Regions from separate parts of the Homo sapiens genome. Here region 1 is linked to region 2. Evidence: promoter capture Hi-C in human tissues and cell types (Jung and others, 2019). All regions are on one chromosome and are shown on one strand. The core of a region is centred on a gene start or on the middle of the fragment in contact, and the rest is flanking DNA. Distances in the headings are between cores, read along the strand shown. Region 1 overlaps ZBED6 (zinc finger BED-type containing 6). Region 2 holds the start of CYB5R1 (cytochrome b5 reductase 1).

The links. Contacts are between HindIII fragments. The study calls those that stand out against the background at their distance.
Region 1: a contact is called between a fragment that was not itself captured here and the fragment with the promoter of CYB5R1 in region 2, in 1 of the 25 tissues and cell types used here (hippocampus).

The regions. Positions count from the first base shown.
Region 1 is chr1:203,851,816-203,858,346 of GRCh38, reverse strand. It overlaps ZBED6 (zinc finger BED-type containing 6), which reads right to left. Exons shown (of 17, transcript NM_001395895.1): 17 at 4,223-6,206. It overlaps ZC3H11A (zinc finger CCCH-type containing 11A), which reads right to left. Exons shown (of 18, transcript NM_001376342.1): 18 at 4,223-6,206. The coding sequence ends at 5,948. Among named protein-coding and RNA genes, the nearest start is that of SNRPE, 6.5 kb to the left of the region's middle. The HindIII fragment of the contact is 4,531 bases long and covers 2,703-6,531 here.
Region 2 is chr1:202,963,320-202,969,445 of GRCh38, reverse strand. CYB5R1 (cytochrome b5 reductase 1) reads left to right here and starts at 2,189. Exons shown (of 9, transcript NM_016243.3): 1 at 2,189-2,255; 2 at 2,548-2,697; 3 at 2,846-2,918; 4 at 3,453-3,559; 5 at 3,946-4,075; 6 at 4,751-4,834; 7 at 5,719-5,804. The coding sequence starts at 2,241. RefSeq lists silencers at 1,091-1,385, 2,002-2,161, 2,232-2,281. The HindIII fragment of the contact is 6,951 bases long and covers 331-6,126 here.

The DNA.
Region 1 (6,531 bases), core at 3,719-6,218, 890 kb before region 2:
TGATGTGTAAGAAATATTCCAAAACTTAGTAGCTTAAAACAACAACCATTTTGTTATAATTCATGACTTCATGGGTCAGGAATTTGGGCAGGTTCTCAGCTGAGTGATTCTTCTGCTCCACAAGACATATCTACGGCTTTGGTGTGTATCTTTGGAAGACTGGCCTCAGCTGGGTCCCTATCTCTATGTAGTCTCAGCCCTCACCACACGGTTTCTCTAGAAGGGTGGTATGCTTTCTTATATGGGGGATTAGGGGTCTAGGAAACCAAGGTTGAAGCTACCAGCACTTTTTTTTTTTTTTTTTTTTTTGAGACGGAGTCTCATTCTGTCACCAGGCTGGAGTGCAGTGGCACAATCTTGGCTCACTGCAACCTCCGATTCCTGGCTTCAAGCGATTCTCCTGCCTCAGGCTCCCGAGTAGCAGGGATTACAGGCATGTGCCACCACGCCCGGCTAATTTTTGTATTTTTAGTAGAGACAGGGTTTCACCATGTTGGCCAGGATGGTCTTGATCTCCTGACCTCTTGATCCACCTGCCTTGGCCTCCCAAAGTGCTGGGATTACAGGTGTGAACCACTGCGCCCAGCTGCTCTACCAGCACTTTTAAAAGCCAAGCCTGGGCCGGGCACGGTGGCTCACTCTTGTAATCCCAGCACTTTGGGAGGCTGAGGCCAGCGGATTACCTGAGGTCAGGAGTTCAAGACCAGCCTGGCCAACATGGCGAAACCCCATCTCTACTAAAAATACAAAAATTAACTGGGTGTGGTGGCGGGCGCCTGTGATCCCAGCTACTCGGGAGGCTGAGGCAGAATTGCTTGAACCCAGGAGGCGGAGGTTGCAGTGAGTGGAGATCACGCCATTGCGCTCCAGCCTGGGTGACAGAGCAAGACTCCGTCTCAAAACAAAAAAAGACTCAAAATTAAAATTGGCAATGGATGTGAGCATCAGTTTGTAGCAAAGGATATAGGAGTGGTCTTTAAACATGAAAAGATGCCCAGCTTCACTCATAACAGAAAGGCTACATTCAGAATGTCTGTCACAAAAGAAAAAAAAGAAAGGCACACCAAACTACACTGAAGTACTATTTCTCTTATTAGATTGGAAATGAAAAAATAGTGGTACTGTAAATTATTAAGCTCTATTTCTAGGTACTTATCCTCCATACAAACTTACATGTGTGGTATAATGTAATCATCACAACATTGTTTAAAATACCAAGATGGGAAGCAACCTAAATGTCTATCAATAGGGACTATTATAAATTACTGCATCTTCATAGGGTGCAATTCTATGCAACTGTTACTAAGATTAAAGGTCTTTGTGTCCCGATATGAAACGATATCCAATATACATGATGAAAAAAAAAGCAAGGTATACTATGCTTGAGATTTACTTCAAAATAACTCAGTGGAGCCAGCAGGGCCAGATCTCAGATAAGGCAAGGCTAAGGATTGAGCATAATTGTAGGAATCACAATCACATGTGCAAATACAAGCCTTGAAAAGTGAGTGCCTCCTTAAATTGTGCCCAATACCTTGCTTGCCTCACCCTCAGCCCAGTCAAGTAGGTCAGAATAGGGGGTGATGGATAGTTGGTAAGGTAAAGAAGAGAGGATTGGCCATGAATCTGCAATTGTTGAAACTGGGTGACTATGTGGAGTTTATTATACTTTAATTCTAAATACATTTGAAATTTTCTTTAATAAAAACGGCAGGGTTCAGAATGTCATGTGTTTTACGCATGATATTGTATGGAAGTGTATTCACTTACACATGGCTAAAGTATCTCTGGAAGAATACCTGAGACACGGATAATGGAAAGTAATATGAAACATTTGTTTCCTTTTGTTATTGCAACTACTCACAATGTTCTTGTAAAACTTCATGACACACCTAAGATATCTGCAAAGTGGGCTTCAGAATCACTGGCCCAAATGAACATACCCCTGAGAAAGGAGTCTGCCAAACCTCCCAAATATTTCAGAACATTCTTCCTCTCAGCTTGAAGTTTCTTTCATCCCAACCAGAAGCTTCACAACTTGCTGAATGGCTGTGATTATTCTTTACCATGCCATAGATTCAGACTCTACAACATTTTAGCAGTTAAATCCAACCAAATCTAAATACCTTAGTAACAGACCCTCTCAGTAAATATAAATCCAAAAAAAATTTTTTTGAGATGGAGTCTTGCCCTGTTGCTCAGGCTGGAGTGCAGTGGTGATTGATCTCGGCTCACTGTAACCTCCGCCTTCCAGGTTCACACAATTCTCCTGCCTCAGCCTCCCAAGTAGCTGGGATTATAGGTGCATGCCACCCCGCCTGGCTAATTTTTTTGTACTTTCAGTAAAGATGGGGTTTTGCCATGTTGGCCAGGCTGGTCTCAAACTTCTGACCTCAGATGATCCACCCACCTCGGCCTCCCAAAGTGCTGGGATTACAGGCGTGAGCCACCGTGCCCAGCCAAAATTACTTTTTTTAAATGTAAAACTAAATTCTTGATTGCTGTTCTTATTTACGGTCATTACTTATTTTTTGCCCACTTTATTGAACAAACTTAAGAGAATGGTCAAGGATTTTAATTGTGTTCATGCCCCTTAACTAATATCTTTTTGCAAATTCAAAATAAATTGCGGTTTGGAGTCTTAATTATTAATGCAGTTAAATGTCTGGGTTGTAGGAATTTTCAGAGTTACTGAGCAGCTTCATAAAGTCATGATTTTAAAAAACACTCTTGAAAAGATCTACTAATCAAACCCAATGGCACATAATATATAAACATACTGACCCTGAAACTTCAGTGCGGGAATAGTCATCTTTAATGTACTGTATAATTTAGTGTCAAAATGAGGACGTGAATTAAAGATACACAATAAGTACTCAATAAATGTTAGCTAATTTAAGTTTTACCTATTAAGCAGTTACAACTGGAGACCATGTATTTCCTGTGCTACAGCCAAATTCAAAGCAATCAAATACTTTACAGAACTGCAGAACTGTTGGCTGGGCGTGGTGGCTCACAACCTGTAATCCCAGCACTTTGGAAGGCCGAGGAAGGCCTATCACTTGAGGTCAGGGGTTCCAGACCAGCCTGGCCAACATGGTGAAATCCTGTCTCTACTAAAAATATAAAAATTAGCCAGGTGTGGTGGTGCACCCCTGTAATCCCAACTACTGAGGAGGCTGAGGCAGGAGAATCGCTTGAAACTGGGAGGCAAGAGTTGCAGTGAGCCAAGATTGTGCCACTCTGCATTCTATCCTGGGCAACAGAGTGAGACTCTGTCTTAAAAAAAACACCCTGCAGAATTATTCTGGCAAAATAAAGCCACCATTTTAGAAAAGGATCATGGAACTCTGATCAATATATTAATAGATCAAGCTTTGTTACTGCAATTGTAATTAGTAAACATCAGTCTCATCTTTCAAATACTGATCAAGATGAAAACACACTATGTTCTAGCTTTAAAGAAGAACCACTGAGATTTAGGGTTAAGGCTAGAACTTTAGGAATTATTATCTTGAGATAAAATATATGAAACATAAAACTATCTTATTTCTGGCTATAACCAAACTGGAATATTTGGGCCCTTTTCTTACTGTTAAAATGAAAAACTATCATTCAAAACTATAGTCTTTTGCTTTTTGTGAAAAGTTGATTCAACTTGTTGGGACGACTTTTAGACTAATAGGAAAAATCTATGTTCTTTGGTAGCTAACAAACATATACTTTCCTACAATTTTAAAAATTGGCACACATATTAAGAAACCTGGACTTCTATAAATTAAATTTCTTATCTGCTGCACCTTCATGCTTGAAAATTCTAAATCGTTGACTCTAAAGATCAAGTTTATTCATTTATTTATTTTTTATCAGCCTCTTGAGCCAGAGTAGGCCCAGAGAGACTCCCTAAGATCACTTTTAAACCCTCCCTCCTTTTAAAAACTTAATGGCATTGCTTGAGTTACAACACTAAGGAGTAAGTATCCGTGTCAGAAAAAAAATCCTCACATTATAATAATATAAATTCTTACCTAAAGCATATGCAGCTAAAATTGAGCACACTTGTAAATTTGGCAATATATCCAGATGAAAGGTTTCTAAGCCAAATAATAACTGAAATTCGGGCACTTACACGAAAGGCCAATAGCATTCTGTCTGGGGTCTCTTGTCAAGATGGATCCCAGGCTGATATGATGATGTAAGATTACTTAGCTCACAACATCAAGACTTTCCTACATCAGTTTTATTTAAAACACAAACAAGTATTTCTCTTTCTGTAAGGGCAAATGGTTCAAATAATGCGGAACACGAAACATTGACTAATACAAGTGCTTTAAATATGAAACAAAATTATTTTTTAAAAAAGCAAAAGAATAAAGAATATATACAAAAGGGACCTGGAATCTGTAAGCTGATTCCAAAAACGAAATAAGTAGAAAATCCATGGTGAAACCTGAACATTCTACCTCTGCTTTGGAGAAGGGCTATCATACAACATTCAGTCAGCTGAAGATGGATTGGTAGAGGTGTGTCTATACATAAACTTCAGTCATTTTTGCTTGTGCAGAATCATCCCAATCTTCCCAAGACTGAATGGGCAGTCCTGTGGCTTTCTTCCTTTTCCATATTCCCAACAAGGCTACGTGAAGTTCAACTCTTGATGAGCCGCTTACAACAGCAGTTCCTTAGGAGCCAACATGACAGGTGGGTCAGATTTCCCTATGAGAAACAAAACTGGCCACCTACAGCAAAATATCAAAATGGGTAAGTCCTTCCTTCCTCTTCCTCCTGATTATATACAACATATCTCCTTTCAAGACTATTATTTCCATCATGCTTATTCCTTCACAAATCTAAACCTTGAGGTGATATGAAGGAAACCAACATCAAGAAAAGAAAACTCAATTCAGAAATGAAGAAAACTGGCAGGTATACAATACACCCCCAGAGCATCTCAATATCCCTGGCACAGTACAATTCAGTGTACTGCTACAGCCCATAGATAAATATTGGCAGCTTGAATAAGCTCATTTTTTCCCTCAGGTGGTTAAAGGCCACCAAACAAATACTGGGCAACAGGGGTTTGTTGGGAGAGTTAGAAATAAAAAATTAACCAAATTTTGTCCCTGTGTTAATTCAATGCCAGCAAGGAGGCAAGTACTGAAGAAGAAAAAGGACAATTTTCATACTAAAAAAGAATTCCTCTAATCATGTCACCATCTCATATAATGAATCCAGGGAATCCCAGAAATAGAAAATTAGTTTCAGGGGACCCCTGAGGCACTTTAAAGCCTTTTAAAAAATTACAGTAATAATAAATTAGATATTGCTCTTCAGAGGCTAACAGAGCAGCAGAAGCATCAAGATCAGGTCCAAAGAGTTATGCCCACATTACAGGCTTCCTGAGCTGCTCAGCCCTCTTTAAAGCTTAGTTGAATCTTTAAATACCTTTAAAAAGACATACAATTTAACACAGACTGAGTGGGTATTTTTGTTTAGTGGTAGCATAAAATTTGGTCCTTAATGGTAGCAGCTGTCTTCATCCATTTCAAACTCAGGTAATATTAAGTACATCAAGACAATACATAAAGAATACAACAAAGAAGAAAAAAGCCAAAACTGACAAACACCTCAAGGAGTCACTAAGTTCGCTTGCACCCTTTCACTTGATCTCCCTCTCAGTCTCTTTTTTGTGGAGAGAAGGGTATGACAGAACTTTTTTCTCAAAAGATGATAAACAATGGCATCAAATGGACAAAATGGTTATAAAGTAACTTTAAAAATCTGACCCCAAGGAATCCAGGACACATACAGATAATTCAGAGGTATACTTCTGATTTGGGGCAAATTCTAGACTAAAGAAATGATCATCTCAGGTAAATGTTACAATAGATGAAACTAAGTCCAGTTTTTTGGCGATTTTTTTTTTAAAGTGTCCTCACTACCACCTTCAGCTATCAATCATTTCTGATAGCTCAAGCAGAAGGTCATCTTCATCTTTCCCAGGATCCAGGTCAATCTCAGCTTCCAATTTGCCTCCTGAAATCTCCCATATTAGTTTCTCAAAATCATCCTCCACAGAGAGTGGGGGCTTTCCTGTTGAGGCAGAGCTGAGTCGGCGAGTTTTCATGCTCATTTGGGATGAGGAAGGGCCAGACACCTCCGGGGGTGAGGAATCTGAAGAGGACTGGGTTGGAGGCAGCACAAGACTGTAAGAAAAAAAAGATTATTAGAAAACTGCCGTTTTAAAAATAGTTGGCTGAATCACCTAGTCTCACGGACACAAAGTGAGCAAAAATTTGTTTTTAAGAACATACATAAAGAAATAATTCTTTTACTGATTTGGGATCAAGCTTTTTTTTTTTTTTTTTTTTTTTTTTTGAGGCAGAGTCTCCCTTTGTCACCCAGGCTGGAGTGTAGTGGTACAATCATGGCTCACTGCAGCCTCGACCTCCTGGGCTCAAGCGATCATTTTGCCTCCGCCTCCCAAGTAGCTGGGTCTACAGGTGTGTGTCACCATGTGATTTTTTTTTT
Region 2 (6,126 bases), core at 940-3,439:
AGACCTGCCAGGCCATCAGCCCCTTCCCACCACTCCTGCAGCATTCATTTTCAGGAGCAAAAGAGCCTTCCCACAATTACTGAGTCCAACACTTAGTTTCCAGGATAAGCCCACACCCAACCATTCTGTCCTGTGGTTCCCAGTGATACACTCACACTTGTTAGAATGTGCCACTTTGGGGTTCAGAAAATGCAATCACTGAGAGAAGCCCGAGTTGTAGTTATGCTCTCCTTTCGTTCCATACTTCCCCCTCTCTTGCCACATCTATCCACTAGAGGGAGGAAGGCCTAGAACCTCTTTAGCCAGAGTGGAGCAGTGGCAAGGATCAGTAGTGTGGCTTCTTAACCAAGCCAGCAGTGGGGATGTCAGAAGCACCGGAACATAATCGCCTCATTCTCTCGGAACAGAAAAGAGGAAGGGTCCCTTCCTTCCCCTTTTCAACCCTCTCTGCATGGATTGGCATGTCACCATGATCTGGTGCACTCACTTCCCTCAAGTCAGTGTGCAGGCTGCTTAAAAAATTCAGAGGAACATGTACTGGGGTCTTAGGAACATTTTCAGCCAGTGGAGAGGAAAAGGAAAACTAAGTATCTCTTGGATCATTCACAGAGTTCACCAAATACAACTGAAAACTGGGGGCTCTAATGTCCCTGCTGCCCTGATGGTATTAGTTTAAGATGTTGACACTGACATCTGCAGAGATCTCATCCATCACGGTATATCAAAGAGCAAATGTCATTCTAGTTGAGAAACTCATGTATGAGAAAGAATGGTCATCTTGGGAAATCTGTAGCTCCAGCGGCTCCTGATGTTTTTTCCTGCCTCCTCCTGTCCCATGCTTGTGCCCCAGGCAGAGCTCATTCCTAAAACCATAGCTGACCCTCTGTGCTGTCTTTTAAGTTATAATAGTAGCTGCCAACTGTTGAATATTTTGCTTTATGACAGGCACTACACTAAGCACGTTAACATATCTCACTGAAGCCTCACACCAAAGCTATGAACTAGATACAATCTATCTGTAGATAATAATATATATCCATCTGTAGATATCCATCTTATATCCATCTGTAGATGAAGAAACTCAGGTTGAGTAAGCTATCTAAGGTCACAGAGCCAATAAGTGCTAGAGGCAAGATTCTTATTCTGTACACTCTGCCTCCAAAGCCCACTTCTTTGACCCTAAGGGCACAAGAACCCAAATCAGGATGTGAAGCTTGGTCTTTGAAACCAAAGGAAGCTCCTGAATCATCCTGATAGGCTGACGGCTTGGCGCTGTAAACAAAATCAGTCTTTTGTCAAAAGGAAATGAAGTTGCCATGCCACTGTTCACTCCTGTAAGAGACTCCTCTGGGCTGTTCCATTCTCTTGCTGCAATTCAGCCGGTTGAAAAACTAAGGTGACTGCACAATGATTAACTTCAGGCCCTTCTGCTCTACTTTGAGCCTGTCTCTGGTTCATCGTTACACTCTCCGCTCAGCACCCGCAGACTCAAGAGATTTCCAATCCCCCAATTTAGCGTGGTTCTACCTTAGGCAGAACTCCCATCCAGTTCGGATATAAGCGGGTCGAAGTGGCAGGGACCACCTCGCTGGGAGGAGAGGCTGGAGCTGCGGTCTTAAAAGATCTTGGGGCCGGGCGCGATGGCTCACGCCTGTAATCCCAACACGTTGGGAGGCCGAAGCGGGTAGATTATTTGAGCCCTGGAGCTCGAGACCACCCTGACCAACACGGTGAAACCCAGTCTGTACTAAAAATACAAAAAAAAAATTAGCCGGGCGTGGTGGCGCACGCCAGTAGTCCCAGATACTCGGGAGGCGGAGCCAGGAGAACCACTTGAAACTGGGAGGCGGAGGTTGCAGTAACCGAGATCGCGCCACTGCACTCCAGCCTGGGCGACAGAGCGAGGCTCCGACTCAAAAAAAAAAAAAAAAGTATTGAATAAGCACCGGAGACCCTGAGCCACCGAGTAGCGGAGGGAAAGGGTGGCGCGCAGAGGGGCCCAGCCCCGCCTCTGCCGGACCCCGCCCCCAAAAGGCCCCGCCGCCGCCACCTCCTGCTAGGCCCCGCCCCCGACAGACACCCCCCCCCCCCCCCGCCAGGCCCCGCCTCCTGCCCCCCCAGCCGCGAGGTCCTGCCTCCTGCCCGGCCCCGCCCCCGGCCTGCCCCGCCCTCCGACCCGCCCCGCGGCGCATTGTGGGATCTGTCGGCTTGTCAGGTGGTGGAGGAAAAGGCGCTCCGTCATGGGGATCCAGACGGTAAGACCCTCATTCAGTATCCTCCACTGGGGGACCCCTCCCCATCTGGTTCTGGCCACTCAGCTCCGGACCAGGGGCTGTCGCTGCCGACCCCGCCCCGCAGGGCTCTGGGCCCACCGTGGATGCTGGGGTCCCGATCCCGCACATCCGGGCTCGGGACTCCGCCAGGTTACCCCTCTGCCCTTGGCATGCCTCCGCGCTGGAGCTCGGGATCGCCACCCCTGGGACGGTCACCACCCAAGCCCCGGGCTCTTACCCAGCCTGGCGGTCACGCTGCCTCCTCTACCCACAGAGCCCCGTCCTGCTGGCCTCCCTGGGGGTGGGGCTGGTCACTCTGCTCGGCCTGGCTGTGGGCTCCTACTTGGTTCGGAGGTCCCGCCGGCCTCAGGTCACTCTCCTGGACCCCAATGAAAAGTACCTGCTACGACTGCTAGACAAGACGGTAAGTTGGGGAAGAAAGGGCCAGGGTGAAGGAGGGGACCAGAGTGCTCCTGGCATGGAGGGTACAGCACCCACGGTGGTTGGGATGTCCAAGGGACGTGGCAGCGCCAGGCGCGCTTGGTGAAACACTTGTGTCCTCCACCCTCCAGACTGTGAGCCACAACACCAAGAGGTTCCGCTTTGCCCTGCCCACCGCCCACCACACTCTGGGGCTGCCTGTGGGTAAGGAAAGTGTGGAATGGGCTCCTTTCCCTGGTATCCTCAGAAGGTGACTCCCCTCCTGGGATCTCATGAAACACGCTGCTTCAACCGGTTTGCTCCACACACCATTCCCCTTCCCCCACTTGGCTCTGCATCCTCCAAGCTGTGAGGTGCCACTGGGCCCCTCTAGAGTGTGGCTTCCATGACCCCCATCCAGCTTTAACACTCAACAGTCTTGCCTCTTCCCTGCAGGATTTGCTAATTACTCCCTCTGAGCAAGCACTACTAACTTTTTCCCATTGCCCAGACCCTTTTGGCTCATCTGTCAAGGTCCTGGCAGTAACTGGCAGGAAACGCTGGAAATAAGTGTTTCCTCAACTGGGCGCTTATAAGAGATCCAACTGAGGGCTCAATGGGGCAAATCTTCCCTGCCTTGTAGCTCCTTGGGACCACAGCAGGAAGCAAGACATCTTGTTCTCTCAAATCTCTTTGAGTATTTTGAGGGATGCAGCACATCACAGACAACCCTTATGTAGCTCTCTGCACGGTCCCCAGGCAAACATATCTACCTCTCCACCCGAATTGATGGCAGCCTGGTCATCAGGCCATACACTCCTGTCACCAGTGATGAGGATCAAGGCTATGTGGATCTTGTCATCAAGGTAAGGGGCTAGGAAGGGACCCAGGGGCTGCTTACCCATTCTTTCTGGGATTTGTAGAAATTTCTAAGATTTGCCTGACAGCAGGAAATGGTATGTACTCTGTGGATGTGAAGAAAGTATGAGCTACTCAGGAGACTGAGGCAGGAGACTCACTTGAACCCAGGAGGCGGAGGTTGCAGTGAGCCAAGATTGCGCCACTGCACTCAAGCCTGGGCAGCAAGAGCAAAACTCTGACTCAAAAAAAAAAAAGAAAGAAAGAAAGTATGTAGACGGGGAAAAGATAGCACATATCTGATCCCTGCCCCAGCCTCAGGGAGGTTTAGTCAACATGGGGCTCAGAAACCAGTGACATTCCAAATAAGGTATTTTTCTCTCTGTCTTGTAAGGTCTACCTGAAGGGTGTGCACCCCAAATTTCCTGAGGGAGGGAAGATGTCTCAGTACCTGGATAGCCTGAAGGTTGGGGATGTGGTGGAGTTTCGGGGGCCAAGCGGGTTGCTCACTTACACTGGAAAAGGTAATGACCTGTCTTCTCCTTGAGCCTGTCTCCCACTTTATCAGTTCCCATAGTCCTCTTGGCACAGTATGGCTGTGTGTACACATGTGTATGCACGTAAGGGCCAGGGCCGCCCTTCCTTCTAAACATAGCGCTGATACAATAGAAAGGCATGTTTCTCAGCCCCATTTGCCACAGGAAGCAGTTCCTCCTCCACTTGAATTCCCTAGCCATGGCAGCTGTGGAGATTACTAAAGCAAACATGTGCCCCTCTTCCCCACCTTCAAAAATTTGCCCCCCTGGGTGAGCTGTGGAGTGAGCCAGAGATAGCTTTCAGCCCTTCCCATGGGAACAGCTGGGTGCATTAGCAAGTCCCTGGAGCTGCTGTGTGCCACTTGGGAAAATAGATTCACACCTGGCTCTGTGCCTGTCTCCTTCACCAGGGAGTGACACTTTGCCAGAAGCAGCTGATACATTGTGTGGCGCTGAACTGACTCACAGATAGCCCTGGCCCCATTGTCCCTCAACTATATTATTGTCAGGGCTGGCTCAACTCAAGCTTCCACCCAAGCTCCAGGATCAGATGTCATAGCAGCTGCTCAACTGGCCTCAGGCATATTTTCAACTCTGCATTTGTTTTCTAAGTTCGCTGTATTGACTTTATTCTTCCACTGCTCTCTTCACCTGACCTCTCAGGGCATTTTAACATTCAGCCCAACAAGAAATCTCCACCAGAACCCCGAGTGGCGAAGAAACTGGGAATGATTGCCGGCGGGACAGGTGCATTACACTGAGGGCCTTTCTCTCCCACCATTGTTGACTGTTGCCATGCAAATTCCTAGGTGACCCTCTGAAGACTGGTAACCATAGCCAAGCTGTTGTTCATCAGGGGATTTCCAGCAATGCTTAGAACTCCCTAGTATCTGAAAAACAAAATCATAAGCAGGTAGAAACCAAAAAAAATTTTAACTGATGGAATTAGAGAAACAAATTAAATGAGCTTTCCTCATTTTGAATGGATCTAATAGTTTTAGGTGAGAGAAGAGAGAAGCAGCTAGGAATGACTAGCTAGGAAGAAAGAAAATTAGCATTGGACACTACTGTGCATTAGACACTGTGTAGTCTAATACACTACTATATATTAGACACAAAAATTAGACACATATATAGGTATCTATGAAGTAGGTACTAGCCTTTTCCTTTTACAGAGAGACAATGGGGTTCCAGAGAGGCTAAATGATTTCCACAGGGTTATTTCACTGGTAATGGCCTGGAGCAAAATTAGTATTTGGCTCTGCCTAGTGCCTAAGTACATGCACTTAACCTCTGCAAATACAGTGTTCTAGAACCCTCATCATTGAATCCGGAGGTACTTGTAGTCATTTGTGACACTGGAGTCCTAGCCTCCAAAGGACTTTCAGAAGAGTCTTAGATTAGTTCCTAAGAAAGATTTCTACAATATGAACTTAGATGAATTTGAAGGGTGCCCGGAAATACAGATGTTGGAGAATATGCAGGAAGAGTTTAGAGGATGAGAATGCTAAAGGAAAATGGAGTGGAGTGGTGAATGAGCAGAATGAAGATGAAAGGGCTGGTCAGCTAAGGAGCCAGGACAGGGCAGAGAGTGTGGCCACTACATTTCACTGTGGGGTATCTTCATGCAGGAATCACCCCAATGCTACAGCTGATCCGGGCCATCCTGAAAGTCCCTGAAGATCCAACCCAGTGCTTTCTGCTTTTTGCCAACCAGGTTGGTTTGTTTTCCTCCACCCTAAGACTTCAAAGTTGCTGTGTGGGTAGGGCTGAGAGACGTGGTATGGATGGGCAGAACTGGCCCAGTGCCCTGTTTTAGCCTCTGCCCAAGGTCCCCTCTGTAAGGCACAGGGTCCTCTTTCAATAAGGAGGAAAAGGACAGAGCACTGAATCAAATTCCTTCCCTGGTCCCCAAGGAAAGAAGAAAACTTTTAAGGTATCTAGTCTGGAGCACAGAAACTTAGATCTTCTTGGTTAAATATTCATCTTTGTTCCTTCATAATGTGTAGATAAAGGCTGTTCCCCTCTTCTCCTCATCC